Linked DNA regions of Homo sapiens: region 1 is linked to region 2. The links are contacts of gene promoters, found by promoter capture Hi-C in blood cells and fetal thymus (Javierre and others, 2016). All regions are on one chromosome and are shown on one strand. The core of a region is centred on a gene start or on the middle of the fragment in contact, and the rest is flanking DNA. Distances in the headings are between cores, read along the strand shown.

Region 1 (7,189 bases), core at 393-2,892, 570 kb before region 2:
AGCCTGTTCAACAGTTTTTTAAGAGTGTGTGTGGAGAGGTAGAAGTTGAATTCAAAGGGGTCCATCTTCAGAACTTTGTCAAAAAGCAGGCGATACCAATAAGGACCTTTGCTGACTCCCATCTTCCTAACTTGGAGCATCAGCTGGCTGGGTCAGTAGCTGAAACAGGTGATGCCACAAATTGGGGGTGGGGTGAGAAACCTAGAAAAGTTTGGGAGTCACAGAGCTGTCTTCTCAAGCGATTGAGAGATGCTCTCTAACTGTTCCAGCCCACTGAAGCTCAAAAACTGTGGATTCCCTAAGTGGGCAGGGGCAGCAGCCATAGAATCAGCACTGCCCAGAGCTGCCATCATCCAGACAGACTCATGGAGTGCCAGAGCCAGAAGCTCCTTGGCCCACCCGGAACTTCACTCTCACTTTACACAGGCCTCTGGTGCCCAGGGGTAAGTGGGGGAGGCCTGAGTGTGGAGGTGTGTTTCAGAGAAACTGGGAGTGGAATGCTGGCTCCACCCTTCATTCATACCAGCTGTGCATCCACAGCAAATTACCTAAGCCAGTGGTTCTCAATGTATGGTTCTGGGATCCCTAAGGATACCCCAAGACCCTTTCAAGGGATCCATGAAATGGAAACTATTTTAATAAAAATATTAATATGTTTTTCACTCTCTTTCATGAGTGTACAGAAGAGCTTTTGAAAGACTACATGTTGCATTTTAAAGAGATTTGCAAACATGTAAAACACTGTTATTCTTCTTTCCAAATATGTTATTTCTGTTAATATATAATAAGTTTATCATAGTTATTTTTACATAAAATAAGTATTTTTTAAAAGTTTAGTGTTAGTTTCTAACAAACTGAAGTTCCTTGGGGTCCTCCATAATTTTTTTTTTTTTTTTTGAGATGGAGTATCACTCTGTTGCCCAGGCTGGAGTGCAGTGGCGTGATCTCAGCTCACTGCAACCTCTGCCTCCTGGGTTCAAGTGATTCTCCTGCCTCAGCCTCCCAAGTAGCTGGGACCACAGGTGCGTGCCACCACGCCTGGCTAATTTTTGTATTTTTTAGTAGAGACGAGGTTTCACCATATTGGACAGGCTGGTCTCGAACTCCTGACCTCATGATCCACCCGCCCAGCCTCCCAAAGTGCTGTGATTACAGGCGTAAGCCACCACGCCTGGCCTGGGATCCTCCATAATTTTTAAGATTGTAAAGGCAGACTTAAAAAGTTTGAGAACCACTGATTTAAACTCTTTAGTTTAAATTTCCTTATCTTATCCATCTCTATCTGTAAAATGGACACAACACTTACTTCACAGGATAGTTGAGGCTTTAAAAAGACACCTCATATAAAATGCCTAGGCAAGGTTTTTGAAACACTGCTTTCTCCAACATCAGCTCAGAGCAGTTCTTGGCTTTCTCTGGCATTCAGTCAAGATCTAGTGTCTGGGAAACAAAACTTTGTGGAGTACAAAGATGCTTTCCTGCCGGAAGCCAAGATCTGGGTACACAAGGTCCCATCTGTACCTGGGGAAGACCCCTGTGTCAAGAGCACCACACAGTGAGTGACAAGTCCAACTAGACACATCACAGTAAGGTGCCCATCGGCAACAGCTGAGTTCCCAGAACCTGTTAGCGCACCTGTAGCTCACCTCTCTCACCACCTGAGGGCAGAAACCCCACACAAATAGAACAGCAGAGTGGGCTCAGGACAAAAACCAAATTAAGCTCTTAAAATGGGCACTTCCAGAACAGGAAAAGTCGCTTCAGATGATGTGTCCCTTAAACAGCTGTTTTAGGAGCTGTGACATTTTCCAACCATGAGTAAACAGGGGCAGCTGACCCGGCCATGGGGATGATAAACACCAAGAATAGGGGAATAGGGGACACATCCATGCAGAGTCCCAGTTACCAGTCTTCCTTTAAGCAAGAATGATTTTCATATTGTAATGCCTGCCTAGGCTTTTTTTTTTTTAAACACTGCTACCTCCACCCCCCGAATCTCCCGAATGAGGCTGTCTTTTTTTTTTTTTTTTTTTTTTTTTTGAGATGGAGTCTCGTTCTGTTGCCCAGGCTGAAGTGCAGTGGTGCGATCTCGGCTCACTGCAACATTTACCTCCCGGGTTCAAGCGATTCTCCTGCCTCAGACTCTTGAGTAGCTGGGATTACAGGCATGTGCTACCATGCCAGGCTAATTTTTGGCATTTTTGGTAGAGACAGGGTTTCACCATGTTGGCCAGGCTGGTCTCAAACTCCTAACCTCAAGTGATCCACCCGCCTCGGCCTCCCAAAGTGCTGGGATTACAGGCATGAGCCAACGCCCCCCAGCCGAATGAGTCTGTCTTAATTCTAATTAGATACTGGAAGGAGTCAGAAGATGGACTCCTAGACTGACCTGGTCACTAATTCCCTGTGTAAGTGAGCTTCAGTTTCCTCCTGTGTAAAATGGAGAGGAAAAAAGAAATACACACATCTCATAGGATTGTAAGGAGCTAAGGAAAGAGACAGAAAGGATCTTTGTGAAGTCTAAAGTGCCCTTCAGTATTTCTTACTGTAACTGTCTCAGGCAGCAAAAGCTAAATAGTTACATCCTTTTCATACATCGGTAGATCCTTTTTAATATATGCAGAAAAAACAATATGCCTGGCTTGGGTTCAGAAAGGAGCAGTGATTTAGCAAGAGCATGTTCCTTGGAGTTTAGTTGGTCTCCTTGATTCAATTAATGCTCAATCTGAGTGAAATGGTTCTAGAAGACAGCCATACAAATGTGATTTGGGAAAAATTGTACTTTCCTGTTAATGAGTGCCTATTTAACACTTTAGAGTTTAAAAATGATTTTACCTACATTATCCCAAGTCCTCCTAAGAATACTGAGAGGAAGCTAGTCTTCTTTCTACAAGAACAGGCTGAGAGAAGTAAAGTAACCTGCTGAAGGTTTCAAAGCAAGTCAGAGGTGCAGCCAGATCTGCTGAGTCTAAGGTTTGCATTCTTTCCACTGTCTGACCCCAGAAGACACCACCTCAATTCCCAGTGAGATCATGTGGGCAGCTCTGGTCACTGGAAGCACAGCTGGAAGGCAGCAGGTGCTGAACTGCGGGAGTGGCTTTGTTCAACCCAATTTACCCAATCTGCCAGAGGAGAACCAAGAGGGCCTCTGACCCCCACTCCCTCATCCCCAGTAAATGCCACTGTTTTTTTGGTCCCAAATGAATGGTAACCCTGCCTTTCTCTGCAGCTTGAAGGGGCTGCCACAGCTCCTCTGAGGCTGGCTCCCCACTGCCACCCAGACAAATATCTCAAGCAAGGTTTCCTCACAGCTGTGTCACAGTGAGCCACACAGGAGGAACCGCACAGCGTGCAGGAGTAGGGGAGCAGGGCTCAACCGTGTGGGCAGAGGAAGAGGGGGACCTGAGACACCCTGCCCAGGGAGGCAGAGCTCACAGAGGATCGGGGTCAGGGGCACTGAAGGGTTTGAGCCCTGCTTCCAATGCTTACCCCTTAGGGCTCTTGAACAGTTCACCAGCCTGGTCCATAAAAATGGTCCCAGGTCCATAAAAATGCCCTGTATATTCCAAAAATCTCTTTGGGGTAGAACAAAGCAAAAGGTAGGCACTCATACTGTCAAATCCCCTCTGTCTGAAGAAAGGCTTTACTTGATCTCCCCAATTATCTATTCCTTTAAAAAATACCTCTAGCTTGTACTTTAAAAATTTACATTAACATGGATTTCAACCAGTTACTTCTACTCTTAACCTGGGATCCATGGATACGTTTTGAGGGTTCTTAGTACTTGGATGGGAGGATGACTAGATTTTCACTAACCTCTGAGTGAACTTAGTAGATGTTTATTACAAGCCCCAATAGTATTAGCAATACCTGTGTCTCTGTCACTAATAGAAATCAAAATGTTTCCATATTCTATCAGTTGTTGTAGTCTCTTGAAATATTGTTTATACTCATCACAACTTGGAAATTATAGTAGTTATTAGGTCTGCCACTAGATCTGGTTATTGAATGCATTATTAAAGAAGGCAGTAGATTACTATGTCACAAATTTGTTTTTTGATGCTTTCAATAACGTATTTCAGTAAGATTGGCTTCCTTTGTAATCCTATATATTTCAGCTTCTGTATTTGGAAACACTGTAAGGAGTCCACAGGCTTCACCAGACTGCCAAAGGGGGCCTGGACACAGAAAAAGTCAGGACCCCCTAACCCAAAATGCTCCTCTGAGTCCTCAGGGACCAACCAAGCTCCCAGCACCAAGCTCCTCTCTGTGCAGTGGGGCAACGGAGGTCTGAAGGATGAGTCACCTAATTTATTGAGCTCCAATAAGTACCAAGAGTTGTTATTTCGTTTAATTCTCACAAAGATCCAAAAAGATCTCAAGAGAAGAAACTGAAGCTCACAAGGAAGTGAGCAACAGCTACCCCAGCCCACCCCCTCCCACTCTGCAGTCAAGGGCCCCGCCTCCCATTCACCACCACCTCCACCCCCCACCACTCCCCCATAGAGCCCCATCTGCTAATGGTGAAAAATTGGACTGCGAGTTAGGTACAACCAGCTGTGTGACTGGGAGCAAGTCAGTCGACGTCTCTGAGCCTCCAAGTCCTCATCACCACAATGAGGATAAACATCCATTCCACAGGGTTTTATTGTGTGGGTCCAACAAGAAAGCATGTGTAAAGCGCTCAGCGTGGTGCCTGGGACCCACAGGCTGGCTCCTAAAAAGTGGCTGTCATCACTATCACTATCACAGAGCAGGGACTCAGTATATTGCATGTGTAGCTGCATTACAGTCCATTTTAGAAATTATAGGCAATCCTAAGGCCTCTCTCCCACCTCCAACAACTCTAATCAGAAATAGCCAAGGGTTTGTTTTCTTTCTCTCTGGGCATTCATGACTTCTTAGAAGCCAGATGGACTTCCCCTCCTCCACAGCAAGGAACACGCTGAAAGATGAAAGCTTCAGCGGCAGGGTCTCGAAGAGGGGAAGATGGGTGGCCGACTCCAGTGCAGGTATCAGCACCCTGGGCTCGGCTGAGCAGAATTTTTTCCCCCAAGCTCGCTGGGGGCCCAGGGGAAGATGGTGCCGCCGTGTCTCTGCGTGCTCGTGTGTAATTTATTTTCCTGCATGGTTGCAGGGAGGTGGCTGAGGTTTCACAAGCTGTACCTGACAGATAATTACACGAAGACAAATTGTGCCCTGCCTTACCCTTCTCCTAGTATGGCAACCTCCAGACTGCGTGTGTTGGGGCTGGGGGTGGGGGATATGGAAGGCAGCGGGTGCTGAACTGCGAGAGGGGAGGGGCTGGGCCAAGCTGGCAGCAAGCTGGGGCAGACTAAGGAGCCGGGAAGAACTGGGGCGAGCTCTAACTGAGGCACAAACACTTCTCAGGACTGAGTAGTGGCTCCCTTAAAGGATGACAGATGCAGGGGGCGCTGGTGCCTGGTTCAAAATTGTTTGCTTTGTGGGAAGCCAGAACCAGAAACAGACCACTCAGGGCTGCGCTGCCCCGGCACGGGATTCTCTGCAGCTCCCCCTGGGGGAGAAGCAGTGCAGAGGGTGGAGGAGACCAACCCCGCTCCTGGTTCTGATCTAGGAGCTGACAGAATTCTAGTTTCTCACCGGGTTTCTCTCATGCCCTAGATTCCTGCCCAGACTCTTTCCACTCCTACTCTCTTCTCCCTGATCCTCCCCATTTTTGTTATTGTTGCCTTGTAAGATTTTTTAAAAATGTTCCTGGGCGAAAACCTGAAAGATGGTATATACAGCCTCCAAATCTACCTTTTAAAACAGAAATTTAAATGGTAGTAATTTTCACTGTAATTTTTTTTCTTTCTTTTTTTTTTTTTTTTTTTTGAGACAGAGTCTCACTCTGTCACCCAGGCTGGAGTGCAGTGGTGGATCTTGGCTCACTGCAACCTCTGCCTCCTGGACTCAAGTGATTCTCCTGCCTCAGCCTCCAGAGTAGTTAGGATTACAGTCGCGTGGCACCACGCCTGGCTAATTTTTGTATTTTTAGTAGAGATGAGGTTTCACCATGTTGGCCAAGCTGGTCTCCAACTCCTGACCTCAGGTGATCCGCCCGCTTCGGCCTCCCAAAGTGCTGGGATTACAGGCGTGAGCCACTGTGCCAGGCCTTCACAGTAATTTTTAATTTATAATTATTTTATGTTGACCAACATAGAAGCTAATAAAAATAAATCAAGCCTATAAGCATATTCAGCTTTTTTTTTTTTTTTTTTTTTAGAAAAACAGACTGTTCCAGGAGCCCAGGGATGCTAAGGTTTTAGTTTTAAATCCTCCCAAAGCTGAAGGACAGCCTCAGCTTCCTCATCAATTAAGTGGAAAAAATACCATCTTCCTTGGAGGGAGGGCTCTTCCTGGGTGCAAGGCATACTACTTCATTTACTCATTTATTCATGGAGCATCTGTTAAGCACCAACGGAATGCCTGGCACTGGGCATGACATAATTTAGTCTGTATCATCAAAAAGAAGAGCTGAATATGTAAGAGTCCTCTGGGAGGAGCCACCAAGGCAGGAGTGATTGATGTCATCCACTGAGGGGGTCAGGGAGAGCTTCAGTGAGGAGGCTTTGTGATCAATACTTATCTCTTGGGCCATTTTCTTTAGCCCAGAGCTTGGCCTCTTCTAGTCCCTCAAAATAGATTGCTCCCTGCCAGACTCCCTCTCTCACTATATCTATATAATGTATCTCAGTCTCTCGCTCATCCTCCCCTCCGGCTTTCTCTGAAACCCCAGGCAAGATTAGCAACACATCTCTGCTCTCACAACCCCACACACCGACCTTCAGCTCATGGTGAAATTACCTGGGGTTGTATGCGGTTCCCTACAGAACCCCTGGACATAAGGGCAGGGATGGGTTCCTCCTTCCCCAGCTGCAGGCCCCCCCCAGCACAGACCAGGTTCACAACCACAGCTGAACTGACCAGGCCTCTCCTTGGACCAATCTCCTCTGGCCCTGTCCTTCCTGCTCTCCCTCCCCACTCTGTCCTCCTTCTCCATTTGGCTTCTGCTCACCCTCCTCTCTCTCCCTCTCTGCCGTGCCTCCTCCCTGCTCCTTTGTTCTCGTTAAGATCTGTAACTGAGGAAAGATTCTAGCTCCTTGTCGGGCCCATTCGTTCTCCTCTCTTGCCTGGGCCGGCTCCCTTTGAAACACTTCTCTCGCTG
Region 2 (6,986 bases), core at 2,910-5,409:
GAATAATCTCATATCAGTTTTAAAAATCAAATCTGTAATTTGCCCTCCTCCAGAGAAAGTTCCAAGCCTAAGTACTTTTTTTTAATTATTATTATACTTTAAGTTTTAGGGTACATGTGCACATTGTGCGGGTTAGTTACATATGTATACATGTGCCATGCTGGTGCTCTGCACCCACTAACTCGTCATCTAGCATTAGGTATATCTCCCAATGCTATCCCTCCCCCCTCCCCCCACCCCACAACAGTCCCCAGAGTGTGATGTTCCCCTTCCTGTGTCCATGTGTTCTCATTGTTCAATTCCCACCTATGAGTGAGAATATGTGGTGTTTGGTTTTTTGTTCTTGCCATAGTTTACTGAGAATGATGATTTCCAATTTCATCCGTGTCCCTACAAAGGACATGAACTCATTTTTTATGGCTGCATAGTATTCCATGGTGTACACGTGCCACATTTTCTTAATCCAGTCTATCATTGTTGGACATTTGGGTTGGTTCCAAGTCTTTGCTATTGTGAATAATGCCGCAGTAAACATACGTGTGCATGTGCCTTTATAGCAGCATGATTTATAGTCCTTTGGGTATATACCCAGTAATGGGATGGCTGGGTCAAATGGTATTTCTAGTTCCAGATTCCTGAGGAATCGCCACACTGACTTCCACAATGGTTGAACTAGTTTACACTCCCACCAACAGTGTAAAAGTGTTCCTATTTCTCCACATCCTCTCCAGCACGTGTTGTTTCCTGACTTTTTAATGATTGCCATTCTAACTGGTGTGAGATGATATCTCATTGTGGTTTTGATTTGCATTTCTCTGATGGCCAGTGATGGTGAGCATTTTTTCATAAGCCTAAGTAAGTACCTTTACCAGTAAAATCTTCCAAACATTTAAGGAAGAAATAACATCAGTCGTACACAAACTCTTCACGAAAATAGAAAAAGAAGGAGCTTGCTTATGAGACCAATATAATTTTGTTACTAAAATTCATCAAGAAAGAAAATTGGTCCATCTTCCTCATGAACACAAATGCTAAAAAGCACAGCAAATTTATAAGTCAAATTCAAGAATATATAAAAAAGATAACACATCATGGCCAAGTTGGAATGCACAGTTGATTTTACATTTATAATCATCCATGTAATTCATCATATTAACAATAAAAGTAAATAATCATATGATCATATTAATAGAGGCAATAAAGGTATTTACTGAAACAGCATCCATTATTTAGGAAAAAAGGAAAATTTCTTAGCAAATTAGAAATATAAGGAAAGGTATTTAATCTGATACATAGTATTCACCAAAAAAAATTACAGAAAATATTATATTTAATATTGAAATATTAAGAGCTTTTTCTGTGAGACTAAGACAGGACACCTGATATTACCACTTCTCTTTAGTATCATGTTTGAGTTCCTAGTCAGTGCAATAAGTGAGAGAAAAGGAAGTTTAAGTATTAAAAATAATGAATAAAACTATCATTATATGATTGTGTTTGCATGAAATCTAAAATAACCTAAAGATAAACTATTAAAATTAATAAGTAAATTCCGCAATTTTAGTAGATATTAAAAGGTCAGTAAGGCCGGGCATGGTGGCTCACGCTTGTAATCCTAGCACTTTTGGAGGCCAAGGCGGGCAGATAACTTGAGGTCAGGAGTTTGAGACCAGCCTGGCCAACATGGTGAAACCTCATCTCTACTAAAAATACAAAAATTAGCTGGGCATGGTGGCAGACACCTATAATCCCAGCTACTTGGGACGCTAAGGCAGGAGAATCGCTTGAACCTGGGAGGTGGAGGTTGCAATGAGCCAAGATCGCACCAGTGCACTCCAGCCTGGGGGACAAGAGCAAAACTCTGTCTCAAAAAAATAAAAATAATGGTCAGTAAAACAAAAAAGTATTATATTTCTATATACCAATATACATTTAGAAAAAAATCTAATGATGTCACTTACAATATCATAAAAAACATATCAATAACCTAAGGATAAACCTACCAAAAGATATACTTTCCAGAGGCAAAGCTATAGAAAATTACTGAAAGAATGTCAAGTTAACCTAAATAAATGAGGGGATATTGTATGTTTATGGATTGGGAGACTAAATCTTTTCTAATTTATACAAATTAACTTATAAATCCAATGCAATCCCAGTTATTAAAAATCTACTAGGCTTTTGGGGAGAGAGGGGACAGGAATTGACAAGGTGATTTTTAAATGTATAGAAAAATTCAAAAAGCCAAAAATAGCCATAACAATTTTGAAGAAGAACAGCATTTTATGACTTAAACTATCAGTTAATAAGAGTTATTATAAAGCCACAATAATTAGAAGAGTGTGGTATTGGCATGAGGATAGACAAAATAGACTAATGGACAAGAAAGGAGTTTCCAAAAATAGACCTACATGGCTTTTTGTTTTATAACAAAGGTGAAATTGCACTGTACTGTGGAAAAAATCAACTTTCAATAAATAGGGCAGGATAAATTATCTGTATTTAAGTTAAAAGTGAATATAAACACTCAAACTGTACACAAAAATCAATTGCAATGCTCTTATAAATATAAAATAAATGGTAAAAAATAAAGTTTCTAGAAGATAACCTGGGAGAGTATCTTTATGATCTTGGAGTAGACTAACTTTCTTAGAAGGGATGCAAAAATCTCTAACCACAAAGGAGAAGACTGATAAACTGGACTATGTCAAAGTTAGAATGGTTGTTCATCAAAAGGCACTATCAATGAGCAAAGAAGCAAGCCACAGATTGAAGGAAGACATTTGCAATACATATATCCAACAAAAGGTTTATATTCAGGGTTTAAAATAACTACAAAACAGGAAAAGAAAGACTGAAAGTTAAGAGAAAAATGAGGAAATATTTGAACAGAGATTGCACATAAAAAGGATATCTACATCACCAATTAGACTATGAAAAAATGCTCATTCTCAAATTCACCAGAGACATACAAATTAAAACCACATTGAGATAATTCTAGCAGAACGGCCAGATTTTACTAGATGACAATACCAATATCAGCAAGAATTTTAGAACAATGATAACTCTCATACATTGGTTGGTGGGTGTGGTGGGAATTGGCACAACCACTTTGGAAAATAATTTGGTAATACTTCCTAAACTGAATATATGCATACCTTATGAGCCAGGACTTCCACTCCCAGATATATACCCAACAGAATTATGTGCGCATATGCCCCAATAAATGTATACAAGAATGTTCATAGCAGCACTATTTGTTTTAGCACCAAAAGTAGGTAAAGATTCTGTGTTCCCTTTGAAGTTCTCCTCTTAATCTCTATTCACCCCTGTAACCCCTGTATGGTTTTCTTGCCTCAGGGTGCAGTGGGTCAGATGTGACATAATATACCTAAGGTGATGTGCATTTGTAGATATAAAATTAAATGCCCCCTTAGGAAGACCAAGGTATGGGCCCAGAGAGAAAGGGTGAGAAAATATTTGAAAGAAAGAAACTGGCACTCCTCGTGGCAGCTAATGTCTTAGGAACCTCTGTTGACCAGTATACCAGGATGGAAACTTGACTTTTAGAAAATCATAAGAGCTATACATTCACCTGGTAATTTTTTAAAAAATCAAACGGTACAGAAATACATAAAATAAATTGTGTTCTTCCCACCTATTGCTCCTCAAACATAATCAATATTTTTGTGTGTACTTTCCAGGAAAAGAAGAAAGTATACTTAAAAGAGTTGATGTACACATATATCCTATTTTTTATATTTACCCAATGGGATAATACTACAAAACCAATCTATATCTCACTTTTATTCTCTTCACATCAAACAAGGTGGTCTTCCCTTCTTGGCATGTTCAGATTTACCTTATTCTTTAATGATTGCTTGTCACCATACGGATGAATCAGAATATTCTTAAACAGTCCCCATATCATGGTTTTTTGTTTTGTTTCCAGTGTTTAGGCAATAATGAATGCTACAATAAACGTTCTTATAGTACTCTCTTCAGATACTTCCTTCAGGGTAATTTCCCAATAGCAAAAATGTAGGGTCAAGGGTATTTGATTTTTTAAAACCTTAACTTTTTTTTTTCTTTGATCATCGGGTAGGAAACTGTGATTAGCAGCTGAAGACGGGTACTCCCACTTCCTTTTTTCAATTCACTAATGCATTCTGCTCTTTTTGAGAGCACAGCTTCTCAGATGTGCTCCTTGGAGCTGGTGTGCAGTGTCCTGACTGTAAGATCAAGTCCAAACCTGTTTTGGAATTGAGGAAACTTCTCTTTTGATCTCAGCCCTTGGTGGTCCAGGTCTTCATGCTGCTGTGGGTGATATTACTGGTCCTGGGTGAGTAAAAGGGCTCACCATGGGCCCTGGGTGGGATCGGGACAGCTTCTCTCTCCACCGCAGGCCTGGTCCTTTCTTGGGGCTCAGCCCCTGCTGAGAGACTCTCTCCTACATTAGGAGACTGTATTTTTGAACTTTACTCTGTAGCTCAGGGCTTTCTCTTGAGGCTGAAGAAAATGGCCACAGCTGGAAGGAATTTTCAATCTTACAGAGTAGGAAACCACAATAACCACAACAATTAAAATTTCATTTATTTTTTTCTTTAAAAAGTACTTCTTAAAGTCCAGAGAATGTTTCATGTTTGTTTGTTCATATTGTCTTACTCATAGAAGAGCCCACTCTCCTCTCTGCAGAGGAGATGTATTTATTCCTTGTATGACAAGGCCAGATCCTGGTCCCCAGCATAAGAGGCAAGGTTTCTAACGGGAAAGACAGGTCTTTCTCTTGTACATAATTGCAAACCACTGCAGCAATTGGCTGATTAAGAACATGGGGTGGAGGAGGTCGCAGAGGCGTAGGTGGACAAAGCAAGGATAAATCTAAAGCATATGACTTTCTCTTTGTCCCTGTGGGTGTACGTAAGTCTCTATCAACTCATATGTGCGAACTGGTTGATTTTTACTAAAGGTTAAATATTATAATTAAATATGTTTATTTATTTGTTCAGCAAATGTGTTTAGTAATATCTATGCACAGGTGCTGAGCAATTAGAGTCCATAGGAGACACTACGTCTATGTTCTGGAAAGTCATGACATAGAAGGGCTCCCAGCAAGGCCAATGTACTTTCAAGCAGCTATGCAACAAGCTCCCAGTTAAATAATTGTCCAGGCAAAGTTACCAATGAATGCTGTAGGCAGATAATAAACTGTATTCAAAATAGCTAGTAAAGACTTCATGAAACTTAGAGGTGAGTAGGAGCTAGAGGAGCAGAAATGGAGCAGGCGTGATATAAGAAAAGAGGACCTCACAGTTGGAAGGTGCATGGACTATAATTCCTGAAGTAGGAATACATCTCAGTGTGGCCCCACACAATGTGGGTAATGGCCAGGTCCTGAGCATGAGAGGGCAAAGTTTATAACATGGGCTCTGGGGTCAAACAGGATCTAGGTTCAAACTTCATCTTGCCACCTACTGGCTACCAGATTCCTGGTCTACAAAATGCAGTTAATCCTAGTGCTTACCTCACAGGATTATTGACATGGTTATATGAAATAACCTACGTAAATGCAGACCATATAGAAACCACTCACAAAAATATTAGCTTCATTTAAAACAATGCAAAGATGAAGGAAGCCAAAATATTCAGGTGAATGGTGAATAATTTGTTGTTCTCAGTAAAACACTTAAGTTTGGATAAGTCTCCAATAGCCTCATGTGGACAGGGATGATTTGTCTCTCACACACTCCTGGATTTCTATTGCCTTGCTCTGGAGTATGATTGGCATTCCAAAAATCTGTTGAATAAATAAATCAACCCATATGCAGAATACCTACTCAATTGATAAACCTGCCAGTTTTGTGTCCTCTCTCTCTTCATTACCCATTTCTCAAATCTCTATCCTTCTATTCCTATATTATTAACCTAGTTCTTTAATTAATTCATTATACAACACAAATATATTTAGTGAACATTAAAGGAATATCTTTTATATGCCATTCACCGTTATAGGTCCTGGAGGATATATGGTGAACATAAGGAAAGTCCTAGGTCTCATAGAGCTTGCATTATAGAGAAGGGAAAATAAACAAGCAGATAATGAAGATAATTTGGATAAATACTCTGACAAAAATTACACATTACCATCTCTTGGGCTGAGCATCAGGTCTAAATAATCTGAGCATCAGTTGATTGTTTAAAAATTAGGCATGATGATAATGAGCCCTTGGATTCAATGATCTCATGAAAAGAGTATAGCCTGGAGTCTGGTGCCCAAGGGAGGCTTAATTCATGTCCATTTCCTTGCCCTGCCTTCTAATCAGTCTCCCTGCTTCATATTGTCCCATTAAATTCTGTCCACTGACAGAGTGCTCCATCAAAGTCTGAAATTCTAACCTTGTCAATCTCCTCCTTGAAACCATTCCATGACTCCTTATCACTTTTATAATAAAATTAGAACCACTTACTCAGGCCCTGCATGCTTCTCTGGTCTTATTTCCCCCAACACTCCCAGTTCCTGAGCACCAATGTCATTTCTCCACTTCTGTGCCCTTTCTACCTTGAAAGGTAGAAATCGCCTCTTACCACACACAAATGCTAACATCCACCTGCAGACTCATGTTCTCACTCACAGTTTTGTGAAGTATCATCTCCTTCAGGTACCTTCAAGGATCCACCCATCCTGTTCAACACATGTACACACAAACACACACTCTACACACACACATATATCCTACACACTGGGCTAGTGGCCCTTCTGCCCCCAACATACCCCATGTGTATTTCTGTTATTGCACTTACACCCTGTGTTATATTATTTTAAATCGTGTTTCTGTTTTTCCACTAGTCAACTTCTTGATGGCAGATACCATTTTTAAAATTCATTGTAGAAGTCCAAATACCATGCCATATATATATGTATATATATGTATATTTATGTGTATATATATACATTTGATGAATAATTATTAGAGTTTTTAAATGAA

The links. Contacts are between HindIII fragments. The CHiCAGO score rates a contact against its expected background, and 5 or more counts as called.
Region 1: a fragment that was not itself captured here is called in contact with the fragment with the promoter of FCRL5 in region 2 in 4 of 17 cell types (activated CD4 T cells, non-activated CD4 T cells, total CD4 T cells and 1 more); the score reaches 7.1 in activated CD4 T cells.

Annotation. Positions count from the first base shown.
Region 1 is chr1:158,116,307-158,123,495 of GRCh38, reverse strand. No RefSeq gene overlaps it. Among named protein-coding and RNA genes, the nearest start is that of SMIM42, 8.4 kb to the left of the region's middle. The HindIII fragment of the contact is 6,638 bases long and covers 1-4,961 here.
Region 2 is chr1:157,549,688-157,556,673 of GRCh38, reverse strand. FCRL5 (Fc receptor like 5) reads left to right here and starts at 4,159. Exons shown (of 17, transcript NM_031281.3): 1 at 4,159-4,342. The coding sequence starts at 4,312. The HindIII fragment of the contact is 25,493 bases long and covers 1-6,986 here.